2 separate regions of the Homo sapiens genome follow, and region 2 is linked to region 1. The links are contacts of gene promoters, found by promoter capture Hi-C in blood cells and fetal thymus (Javierre and others, 2016). All regions are on one chromosome and are shown on one strand. The core of a region is centred on a gene start or on the middle of the fragment in contact, and the rest is flanking DNA. Distances in the headings are between cores, read along the strand shown. Region 1 holds the start of INSM1 (INSM transcriptional repressor 1). Region 2 overlaps CFAP61 (cilia and flagella associated protein 61).

The links. Contacts are between HindIII fragments. The CHiCAGO score rates a contact against its expected background, and 5 or more counts as called.
Region 2: a fragment that was not itself captured here is called in contact with the fragment with the promoter of INSM1 in region 1 in 1 of 17 cell types (M2 macrophages); the score reaches 5.4 in M2 macrophages.

Annotation. Positions count from the first base shown.
Region 1 is chr20:20,363,866-20,369,776 of GRCh38, forward strand. It overlaps INSM1 (INSM transcriptional repressor 1), which reads left to right and starts at 4,239. Exons shown (of 1, transcript NM_002196.3): 1 at 4,239-5,911. The coding sequence starts at 4,403. RefSeq lists an enhancer at 3,332-4,102. The HindIII fragment of the contact is 3,677 bases long and covers 2,581-5,911 here.
Region 2 is chr20:20,106,256-20,112,081 of GRCh38, forward strand. The region is part of intron 8 of CFAP61 (cilia and flagella associated protein 61); the gene reads left to right. Among named protein-coding and RNA genes, the nearest start is that of CFAP61, 57 kb to the left of the region's middle. RefSeq lists an enhancer at 1-491. The HindIII fragment of the contact is 1,304 bases long and covers 2,088-3,391 here.

The sequences.
Region 1 (5,911 bases), core at 2,989-5,488:
GTTCCGTTTGAGACCGAGGCGCACGGACTAGCGGCCGCCAGCACCTCACAGGTGGAGGACACCTCTTGCGCCCCAAGGTCAATGTCATCCCGATGGGTCCCGTGCCGTCCTGACTCTCCCTGACCTAATTCTTTGGTTATGACTTTCTCACCTTCTGGGCTTCGCCTCTGCCAGCTTTCGCCGACGTCGCCCTTCCCGCCGCCCGCCCGGGCCTTCCTACCCGCTCTCCTCCCTCCCTGGCCCGACGGTCCCACTGAGGCAAAAACAAACAGCCCTGAGGGCACTTCAAGGAGCGTGCAGTGGCCCCGACGGTACTCTCGGGGGGATAAAAGAGGTGGCCAGCCACGCCGTCGGCCCCCGGCCGAATAATGGGCGCGCAGCAGATTGCCAGGGGGCACTTGAAACTCGAGGGGAGGGAAATACTTGAGCGCGGTCCCTCCCCGCGAGGACGCACGACGCAGCCTCGCGGATCGTCCCTTGTTCGCTCTCTTTCATGCACTCTCCTTTTGTGTGGAATTATCTAAACGGGAGATCCCTGGCAGCTTTATGCTAATGCGCCGAACAAAGGCAACGGCCCGCGGGCGGGAGGCCCGGAAGGTGCCTGGGGCCGGGCCGGGCGGGGTGGCGGCCAGGCGGGCTGCGCGTGTCTCTCGCGTGCCCCTGGGACTGACACAACAACCCCTCATTCCTGCAAATACAAAGCCTCTCACCGGCTCGGGTCGGGCGCACCCGGCGCAGGGAGGCGCTGGTCCCTCCGGGCGGCGGGCACTGCAGCGGTAACGCACGGTTCCTGCCGGTTGTGGCTCGGGGGACTGAGGGCCGGGAGTGGGGGCTTCTGTGAAGCCAGAAGAGAAGTCTGCAGCAGAGTGGTGATGAGGGGCGCTGACACCTCACCCCCAACGCCGACGTCTCCAAACGCGATACCCTCTGCGGGGTGAGAATGCGGGCCCGCCCGGCTCCTCCCGTGAGGCCAGGGCCTCCTGTTCTCCTAGACACCCCAAGGAGCCAACTCCTCCGCAGAAGTTCCCCGCTTCTGCTCTTATTTCCAAGCTTCGCGCTTTCTACAAACTCCCTGTTGCCTTGACTTTGATTTCCAGCCGTGGTGAGGGTCAGAGTGAACCCCGGCGCGCTCCCCGACGGCATCCCCGCACACCAGGATAGGAGAAATTGGAGGGCCTGGGGCCTCGGGCTCCGCAGTCGTCGGAGGAAGAACCCACCGCGGGGTCCGCAAGGGAAAGTGAAGAGGCCCGGGATTTTTCCAAAGCGCTGGCCAGGACCCCGAAGGAAGGGGAGGAGTCACCTGAAGCCGGGGAAGGCCCCTTGGGTGCTCTGCCTTGGATCCTTATGTTCACTGACTTTCGCGAAGCCCCCCTGGAGGGGGGCAAATCCGCGCTGTTTCCCCCAACTTAACTTCACGCGGCCCATTCTCCGAATCGCGTGCGCCAAGGCCGGCGTCGGGGGCGCACTGTGATGGCGCTTTGCTCTTCCCAGGCGAAGACAAATATCTCGACCCGATGTCCCCATGCATGCGGGTGCACAGGTTCTGAGAAAATCACGCAGAAGGCGGCTGCGATCCACGGCCCGGGCTGGGCTACACCTGCTTGGAGGTCGCTGGTGTGTGCGTGCGCGCGTGCGCAGCCTAACTCCTTCCAGCCCCGGGTGGTGAAATTAGTTTCCAATACTAGTACCTTTCAAGTTTCCATTTATTTTGACTGTACCCGTCTGAAAGCAGATTTCATTTACGCTAGCAAGACTGGAAGCCACAAATAAAGAAAAAGAAACGGATTCATTGAATCTCAGTATCTCAGTAGCGTTTAATAGATTCCCTTGGCTAAATTCAGAGCCCTGTTTGAATTCACTCACGCAGGAGTTGTTTTGTTTTTTTTGTTGGTAGAGGTGCCGGTTTCCCATCCCCACGGCTTATTTACAATTATGGGTGTTGTTATTTTTAAAGGATTCACAAGGTGACTAACTCTCTGTTATCTGTTGAATGGAAGGAGTGTTACATATGCAAGACCGAATGGGGCAGGCCGAGCCCCCGCCCTATGCTATTCTACAATCCAGATGGGATTCGTGATTAGAAAATAAAATTGGCCAAAGCTGTCTCGGAATCCTTTTCCCACTTCTAATTTCATCAGCACTATTAATCAGAGCTCAAAAGAGCAAGGAAATAACATCAGTTACTTTTAGATAGAAATATGTTTATAAATTTTAGATAAACTCATTTTAAGATTTCTAACTTTTGGGGAGACTAGCACTCACCACAGCATTTTTAAAACTAGGGTGAGACTTTTCAAAATATATTTCACTATATGCATTCTTCCCTTTTCAGTGTGTGAGTTAAAATATTACAAACATAAAATTATCAAATATCTTTCCCTTGATTAACCAACCTGATTAACCCCTTAATTAATTAAGCCTAACAACTGTCCCCATCACAACTTATGACTCATGTGGACTCTATTTTTACATGTTTAATTTCTACGCCAGGGTATTTTCAGAGGGAAAATCCAAAACAATTAAATACCTTCAGTGGAATTAAGCGTAAGTAAAACTCAGCAAAATCTGTCTGGTATACAAAGCTTTGCAGAAAAATGTTTCCTTCTCTTTCAATAAAGTGACATTTTCCTCACAGCATATGACATTTTATGTGGCTTGGCTATTTGTTCCCCAGTGTTGGACGATCAGGGCCACTACGCACTCGTGGGGTTCTCTGCCCTGTCCCCCGAAGATTCTGCCTTTTGTGTTTCCTCGGGGCTGGGCTGGACAGAGGATGGAGGCAGGCGGCCCAGTCTGGGTCCAAACGGAACGGCAGCGGAGGTGGGGGTGGGGGTGGGGGCGGGGGGAATCTTCGCTGTTGTCTCTTCCTGGTGGCACAGGGGAGGCGGCTTGTCCTCTCGGAGGCCTCAGCCTGCCTCAGAGTACAGATTGCCCCCCCTCCCCCCGTCCAGCACGCGTCTCTTTTGCGTCCAGATTGGCCGCGACCGGAGCTCAATAGCAGGAGGTTAATTTCCTTCACAAAGGTGAAGGGGGCACGGCTCCGTGGGGGCTGCGCCCAGACAGGCAGCCCCTTTATTTCGCAGCGCCTTGATTGGAGCCCTTGATTTAGCATCTGATGTCAACCGGCAAACAAAATGCCCGCTCGGAATGAAAATGCATGAGGCCGCGCGGGGAGGAGAAAGCCAACTTCACTGGGGCGCACGAGGCCGACCGCGCGTTTCGGGCTTCGGCCAACTCGACCCGGATTAACCGAGCCTTGGACCACGCGGAAGCTCCGGGCGGCCTGGGTCGGGCCCCGCCAAAGATGCCATTCCCAAGCCTCCAAGAACCCAAAAGTTCAGAAATTCACGTTCCTCTGGGAACCCAGCCCAGCCCGCCCGCGCTCCAATCCCGCGCTTTCGGGAGACTGAGAAGGCCGTGCCAATTCCTTCTCAAACTCGAAAGAAACCTTCTCTAGCCCCGTGGGCGCGCGGAGGCTGCGAGCACAAACATCGCCCTCGGCCACTGCCAGAAGGCCGGGCCCCCTGTCCACACTTGGAACCCCGGGGAACCCTTTTGCTTGGCCTCTTGGGTCCAGCGGCCCATCCGTCCAAGGTCCGGGCGGAGGCCGTCCGGACCCTGCTGCTCTCTCGGATTCTTGTTTATTTCCCAAACACCACGCGGAGCCACTGCGCCTCCGCAACGATCTCCCCCGCACCGCCCCGGCGCGCCCCCGCCCCCACCCAATCAGCGCGCACAACTTCCCCCTCGGCTCCGGCTCGCGGATTGAACCCTCCTGACATATTTGGGGCCATTCTTCTCCTTTGTTGCTATTTTGCTAGCGACCCGCGGGTAATCCCCGCGCGGGAGGGGGGCGTGCATTGTCGCGCTGATGGACGGGCCCATTTGGCGGCTCCGCGCCCCCCGGAGGAGAGACACAAAGCCCAGGCACGTGCGCCTCCCCATAGAGAAGCAGCAGACCGTGAAGGGAGGCGGGGCCGGGCGTGTGCCTGGACCGGGCGGGGCGGCGGCGCCGGGCGGGGCGACCAGGGGCGCGCGCGGGGGCCCCGCGCCCTCAGGTACATCTGCCGCACCTACCGGGCGACCCCCGAGTCCCGGCCCCCTTTTGGCCGCCCCATCGCCCTCCCACCCTGCCAGGCTGAGGAGCTGCGGACGCGCTGATTGGCTCCAGGGGAAGCGGGAGGCGAGAACAATGGCCCCCTCCCCCCGTTAAAAGGGAGCGGCTGCCGGGCCCGGGGACAGGGACGCGCGTGCAGGGCGCAGAGCTGGGCCGAGCCGTCGCCGGCGCCACGCGAGTCCCGCAGCCGCCGCGCCCGGGCAATGGGCCGGGGGCACTGAGGGCCGCCGGGGCCGAGCGCGGAGGGGGGACCGAGCCAGTGCCGTGCCCTCGGGCCGCGCCAACATGCCCCGCGGCTTCCTGGTGAAGCGCAGCAAGAAGTCCACGCCCGTTTCCTACCGGGTCCGCGGCGGCGAGGACGGCGACCGCGCACTGCTGCTCTCGCCCAGCTGCGGGGGCGCCCGCGCCGAGCCCCCGGCGCCGAGCCCGGTCCCCGGGCCGCTGCCGCCGCCGCCGCCCGCGGAGCGCGCCCATGCAGCGCTCGCCGCCGCGCTTGCCTGCGCGCCTGGGCCGCAGCCACCCCCGCAGGGCCCGCGGGCCGCGCACTTCGGCAACCCCGAGGCTGCGCACCCCGCGCCGCTCTACAGTCCCACGCGGCCCGTGAGCCGCGAGCACGAGAAGCACAAGTACTTCGAACGCAGCTTCAACCTGGGCTCGCCGGTCTCGGCCGAGTCCTTCCCCACGCCCGCCGCGCTGCTCGGAGGGGGCGGCGGCGGCGGCGCGAGCGGAGCTGGCGGAGGCGGCACCTGCGGCGGCGACCCGCTGCTCTTCGCGCCCGCCGAGCTCAAGATGGGCACGGCGTTCTCGGCTGGCGCCGAGGCGGCCCGCGGCCCGGGCCCCGGCCCCCCACTGCCCCCTGCCGCCGCCCTGCGGCCCCCGGGAAAGCGGCCCCCGCCCCCTACCGCCGCGGAGCCGCCCGCCAAGGCAGTCAAGGCCCCGGGCGCCAAGAAGCCCAAGGCCATCCGCAAGCTGCACTTCGAGGACGAGGTGACCACGTCGCCCGTGCTGGGGCTCAAGATCAAGGAGGGCCCGGTGGAGGCGCCGCGGGGCCGCGCGGGGGGCGCGGCGCGGCCGCTGGGCGAGTTCATCTGCCAGCTGTGCAAGGAGGAGTACGCCGACCCGTTCGCGCTGGCGCAGCACAAATGCTCGCGCATCGTGCGTGTGGAGTACCGCTGTCCCGAGTGCGCCAAGGTCTTCAGCTGCCCGGCCAACCTGGCCTCGCACCGCCGCTGGCACAAACCGCGGCCCGCGCCCGCCGCCGCCCGCGCGCCGGAGCCAGAAGCAGCAGCCAGGGCTGAGGCGCGGGAGGCACCCGGCGGCGGCAGCGACCGGGACACGCCGAGCCCCGGCGGCGTGTCCGAGTCGGGCTCCGAGGACGGGCTCTACGAGTGCCATCACTGCGCCAAGAAGTTCCGCCGCCAGGCCTACCTACGCAAGCACCTGCTGGCGCACCACCAGGCGCTGCAGGCCAAGGGCGCGCCGCTAGCGCCCCCGGCCGAGGACCTACTGGCCTTGTACCCCGGGCCCGACGAGAAGGCGCCCCAGGAGGCGGCCGGCGACGGCGAGGGGGCCGGCGTGCTGGGCCTGAGTGCGTCCGCCGAGTGCCACCTGTGCCCAGTGTGCGGAGAGTCGTTCGCCAGCAAGGGCGCTCAGGAGCGCCACCTGCGCCTGCTGCACGCCGCCCAGGTGTTCCCCTGCAAGTACTGCCCGGCCACCTTCTACAGCTCGCCCGGCCTTACGCGGCACATCAACAAGTGCCACCCATCCGAAAACAGACAGGTGATCCTCCTGCAG
Region 2 (5,826 bases), core at 1,490-3,989, 260 kb before region 1:
GGGACATGACCCCAAAGCCATCTTGGTGAGCCTTTTGGTTATTTCATAAAACCTGTTGTCAATTCTCCATCTTAATTCCAAAGCTGATTTCTAAGCCTTTTCTAATGTCTTCAAAAACAACCATAGCATCAAAGGATGGCAACCACTTAAGAATCTATTATTTTGCAGACAGCAACATGACTGAGATCTGCATTCCTCCTTTCCTCTTCAGCCCTGGGAGCGACCTGTGATATCACAGCCTTGTTCTCCAACAGTCAGATTCATTTCACAATGGTGGAAATACAAGCGCATTTTTGTATGGGGCCTGGAGGTCTTCAGAAGAAAAGTGGCTTTATTTATATTCGTTATGATCATTATGTGCTGGGATTATTTTCTCAGTAGGGGATGTCTCTTTTGCCCATATTTATGAAGCAGGGGAGAAGGCATTTAATGAAGTTCAAGAGTGTATTTGACTGTAAAACACATCTCAGTACATTCACATGTAAATAACCCTTTTATTTGTTCTCTCTGGTGACCTTTTTCCTGTTGGGGTAGATCACAGTTTGTTGTTGTTTTCCATTTTCAGATGGAAGGCTGAAAGATAATAACGAAAGATTATGCAAAAAAAATCCGTGTTTAAAATAATGTTGATATGCCACTTGTGTTGCAGGATAATTATAGTAATTTGGCTATTACGCTATATGGAGTCAGCAGTTAGTTGCTAGAAAACACGGTGATAGGGGTGATTCAAGGGATTTTCATCCCAACTGGGTGTTTGATCCTGCTGACTTTTCTCTTGAAAATCAATTGCTTGCACTGAATACTTTGAATTCCCCCTTGATTAAATTGGCCATCAGTGGGTCACACCCATTGCACTGAGGTCACTGTGAGTTCTGTTTACAAAGAGTTTTTGATGATTCTTAAAATATCATGGACCAAATTTAATCTGAGCCAAGCGGCTAAGGAAGCAATTACTGAAAAGCACAGTTTTTGCACATGGCAACAAACAAAGGAAAATTTATTAATTCTGAAGCTCAACATGAAGCCAGTTATTTGACTACTGGGTCAGAGGCCTTCTCTCCACTGCATTTTGCTTGGACTTTCGGTATTTTCAGACCTCCATGGACAGATAGGCTCACTCAGTAGAAGACCTGGTAGAGGCATCTTGGAAGCATCTTTGACAACTTTTCCATTTCTCCTCAAGGTAGTTAATAGATTCAGGTTTTCTATTTCCTTTGAATCAATTTTGGAAATAAGATTATTCTAGAAAAGCTTAATTTAGTATATGAAGATGAAAAATTAGCATACAGTAGTGGAGATATATATAGGAGTATATGTATAATATATGTGTGTATATATGTATCCAACTCTGTGGAAAAATACTTAAAAAAATTTTTTTTCTTTTTTTCAGAGACAAGGTCTCATTTTGTTGCCCAGGCTGGGGTACAGTGGTGCAAGTATGGCTCACTGCAGCCTTGAACTCTTTCTGGGCTCAAGTGATCCTCCTACTTCAGCTTCCTGAGTAGCTGGACTATAGGTATGTGCCACCATACCTTGCTAATTTTTACATTTTTTTGGAGACAGGGTTTCGTTTTGTTGCCAGGCTGGTCTTGAATTCCTGGCTTTAAGCAATCTTCCTGCCTTGGCCTCCCAAAGTGCTGGAATTGCAGGGATGAGCAACCACACCCAGCCTGTCTTTTTTATTGAGTACTGATTTAAGTCTACATGAAATATTCTAAAATAAAGAGAAAAGCAAATCACAAAAGTAGTTATATAAAAATATTATTCATAATAAATGTGGGAAAATATTAAACTTCCCTAAAACTGAAATGCACATTAAAACCCAAGATCTTTTTCTCCCCCATTTTGCCTACTAAATTGTAAATATGCATTGTAATTAAAACACTTAGCTCTGGGCAAGAAGCACTGTAATGAGCACTCAGATTTTCTGATGCTCTGAAGGTTGACTGATATAACATTCTGGAGTACAATTTAGTCATGGTTATCACAGAATGCATTAGATGTTCATGTTCTTTGACTTCAACTATAGCAAATTTGAGGAAATAATACTAATACTATAAAAAGATCCATATGCAAGAATTTCACTAAGCTTAATCATAATACTAAAAATGAACAAACAAAAAATATCCAAATAAACAAATGTAAAAACCCCAAGTCTCCCACAAGGAGATGGCTAAACTTGTGAATATCCCTTAGATAGATATGCAGAAGCCTTTAAGAAGAAGGTTACAAATAGTGAGGGGAAATGGTTCAGATATAATCTCAGGTGAAAAAAAAATCAATGCAAAATGAATTGCAGTATCAGTAAAGTCACCTAATAAAACACATGTTATGAAGAGTACAGGGAGGCAATGAACTAAAATGACAAAAGGGCTGGAGTCATAGAAGTGGCAATAGAGCAACGCTTTTATTTCCTCCCTATATTTTTTAAAATGTGGAAACTATTAAATCTACAGAAAAGTTGCAGATACGTTTTTTTCTTCCTAATCCATGTCAACGTAAGTTGCCAACATGAAGTTGTTGGAGCACCTTGGAATACTTTTGTATGTATTTGCTATAAAGAGGGACATTCTCCTTTGCAACCTCAAACATCCACTGATATCAGGAAATTAACATGAATATGTTACTACAATTTAATCCACAATCCAAAGACACCAGTTACATTTCTTCATTTGTCCTGAGGATGTCCTTTGTGGCAAAAGAATCCAGTCCAGGATAACAAACTGCAGTTACTTGTCATATTGTCTTTCAATGTGGAACAGTTGCTCAGTCTTTCCCTGCTTTTTATGACCTAGCCCATAATTTTGTAGAACGTAATTTATTTTTGTTTGTTTGATGTTTATTCATGGTGAGAGTCATGTCATGCATGTGGAACTCTGGGCTCTCAGTCCATCCTATCTGGTGTGATACATTTTCAGTCTGCCCTGTTACTGATGATGATGTGTGTCACTTTGATCACTTGACTAAAGTGACTCTTTTAGGTAAAAATTAAAATTATTTTCACTTATCCCAGTCTGTGCAGAAGTCTGTAATAATGTCTTTCTTCCTGAACTCTGTATTAGCTCTACCCTGATTTTCACTTGGAATCAACTGATCCTGTTTTACTCCTTGCTTGGGGTTTCATCTTTGCACCACCCAGCATCCCACCACAGGTACTTGAGGCTGTTGAGCTCTCCTTGGGTAAATGATGCTCTTGGTTGTTCCATACGTCAGTCCTTCTATGCTTGAGCTGGTGTCAGCCTCTGGTAATTGCTGTGCGTGGTCCATTTCAGGCAGATGGCTCCTGACTTACTTTGTAGCCAGAATAGACTTCAGCAAGGCAGACTCCCTTCCCCCTCTAACTAGGGTGCTCACAAACGACATGGACCCAGCTCCCAAGTGCTCGGTCTAAAGCTTTACCTACAATTTATTCTCTCCTGTAGCTGTGATTATATCTCTTTCTTCTTAAAGTCATCTTTGCTTTTTACTCTGTCTTGTCTTTTAATTAGGTTTTCCTGTTTGGTCTTTTCAAAGAGCTAGCTCTTAATCTATCAAGTCTATGGGTTTCTTTTTGAATTTATTAATATCTGCTTTCATTTTGTGACCTCTTTCTCCTGATTTCTTTGAATGTGTTTTGTTCTTCCTATTCTAATTGTCTAATTGCCTGATTCATTCTTTTTTTTTTTTTTGAGACGGAGTCTCGCTCTTGTTGCCCAGGCTGGAGTGCAATGGCGCAATCTCGGCTCACTGCAACCTCCGCCTCCCAGGTTCAAGTGATTCTCCTGTCTCAGCCTCCCTAGTAGCTGGGATCGCAGGCATGCACTACCATGCCTGGCTAATTTTTGGTATTTTTAGTAGAGACGGGGTTTCACCGTGTTGGCCAGGCTGGTCTCGAACTCCTAACCTCAGGTGATCCACTTGCCTAGGCTTCCTTGTTTTAAAATAAAAGCACTTCTTGGGAAGACAAAGTTTTGCTCTACCAACTTAGGTCCAAGCGGGTGGGGGCCTGCAAATTGACCAACAGATTAACAGGAGAAAAAAGTATTATATATAAAATAATATATAATACTATGTATAAACTGGTTTGGTGGTTGTTAAGCTCTTCATTTCCCCCATTTGAAACTTCTCAAAAACATTCACAAACAAGGAGCAGGGTTGATTGCTATGGAGAGAAGACTAGGGCTACAAGTTCCAAGGAAAGAAATCTGCAAAAGGAGACAGCAACATAGATTAGAATGCGGAAACAAAAATAAAAATCAAGATTAATATCTGGAGCAACTATCAACCTAGTTTCTGAGACCAAAGGGCATCCAGTCAAAAAGACTTTTAAACATTGGGTTTGAAGCGTTTCTAGACAGGGGAGTGAGCATGGTATTGGCAAACTGACAGATTTCCCAGTTTGCAGTTTGAAGGTTGTTGGTGATGGCGTAGATAGCAAATCACTATAACCACGGTCATGGCTGTTTCCTGGAGCGCAGCATAGAAGATGAGTGTTATAGTGAGCTTCCTGAGTGGCCCACACAGCAGCAGCTCCAAGCACGAGGCCCATACTCACACTTGATCTATTGTGATGATGACTATTTTGAAGTTCATGTCAAGCCATCTAGCTTCAGCTCACAGGGCTTCTTAAGACCTTGGAGGGAAAGGGGCAAAACAAGACAACCTAGAGTCTCAAGGTTCCGGGCAGTCAGATTTTTCAGTGATGCCAAGTCAGGAGGATGGGAGAAAATTTGGAAACATTAATTACTGGCAACATGTGTAAGATAGCAGGATTCAGTTTACAAAAAGGTAGAAATGGCTCAGAGGTAATGAGCAGGATTAGAATCTGATAACTCACATGAGCAGATTATAGTTTTCCATTGAAATATAGAATTTATAATCACCCCAATTTTGATCAAAGATAATAAAATTAATATTATTTTGTTTGTAAAATAAATCTAGTTTCATTAAATTTGGTTTGATTATTTATATGAATACTTCAAAAATGGTAACAGACCACATTAAAGTTTGCTTTGCTGAACTGAGATTAGGAATCTCAAACTGGACTTTTAAAAGCCTGCTGGGACTAGGAAGTCAGGCCAAGAACTTGCTACCGGATTTCACCTATAATGCCTATAGATTTGGATGGATTCCTTTTCTCAAGGTCCCCCAAATATCCTAAGATTCCTGGGCCTGCCGGGAAGTAGCCTTACTAACTCACCTCCAAGGCTGGGAACCCTGAATGCAGGCACCAGTATGCTTTTTCCAAGAGGGCTTTGTAAGCATAGGCTCCATAAAGTCAACCTTATTTCCTTAAAGCTATCATTCTCAAATGACATTCCAATCTAATCCTTGGTCATAACCAGTTATGTCTTGTTACAAGGAGGACAGATTCTCATTGAAACTATGCAAACAACTATATTGCCATGAAAATGGGGACACTCAATAAGAGTTTTGGAACTCTGGAGGGATCAGGCAGGGAGAAAAATAAGATATTTCATTTCTGTTTACAAAAGCATAATGTACGAAATTGTTGTAAGTTATAGATAGCTCACAAAGAAAAGAGAGACGGGTTCCTTAAATCCAGGATAAAATTTTAAACAAAGCCATAATTTTATTCATCAGTTCATTTAGTCCAATGTAATTAATTCTTGTTCTGCTTGATCTAAGGTTAGTAGTTTTTTATGAATCCCCCAGCTTCTCCACTAGAGTTTTGGAATATATGATATAATCTCAAAGTTATTTATGCAATACCTTCAGAAGCCTGCACCCTAGAGTACTTGGCATATTCCTTTTCCATGGGTTTCCTTTTGTTGAAAACAAGTATTATAGCTTATTATAGCTTCTAGAAAAACTTCAGAATAAAAC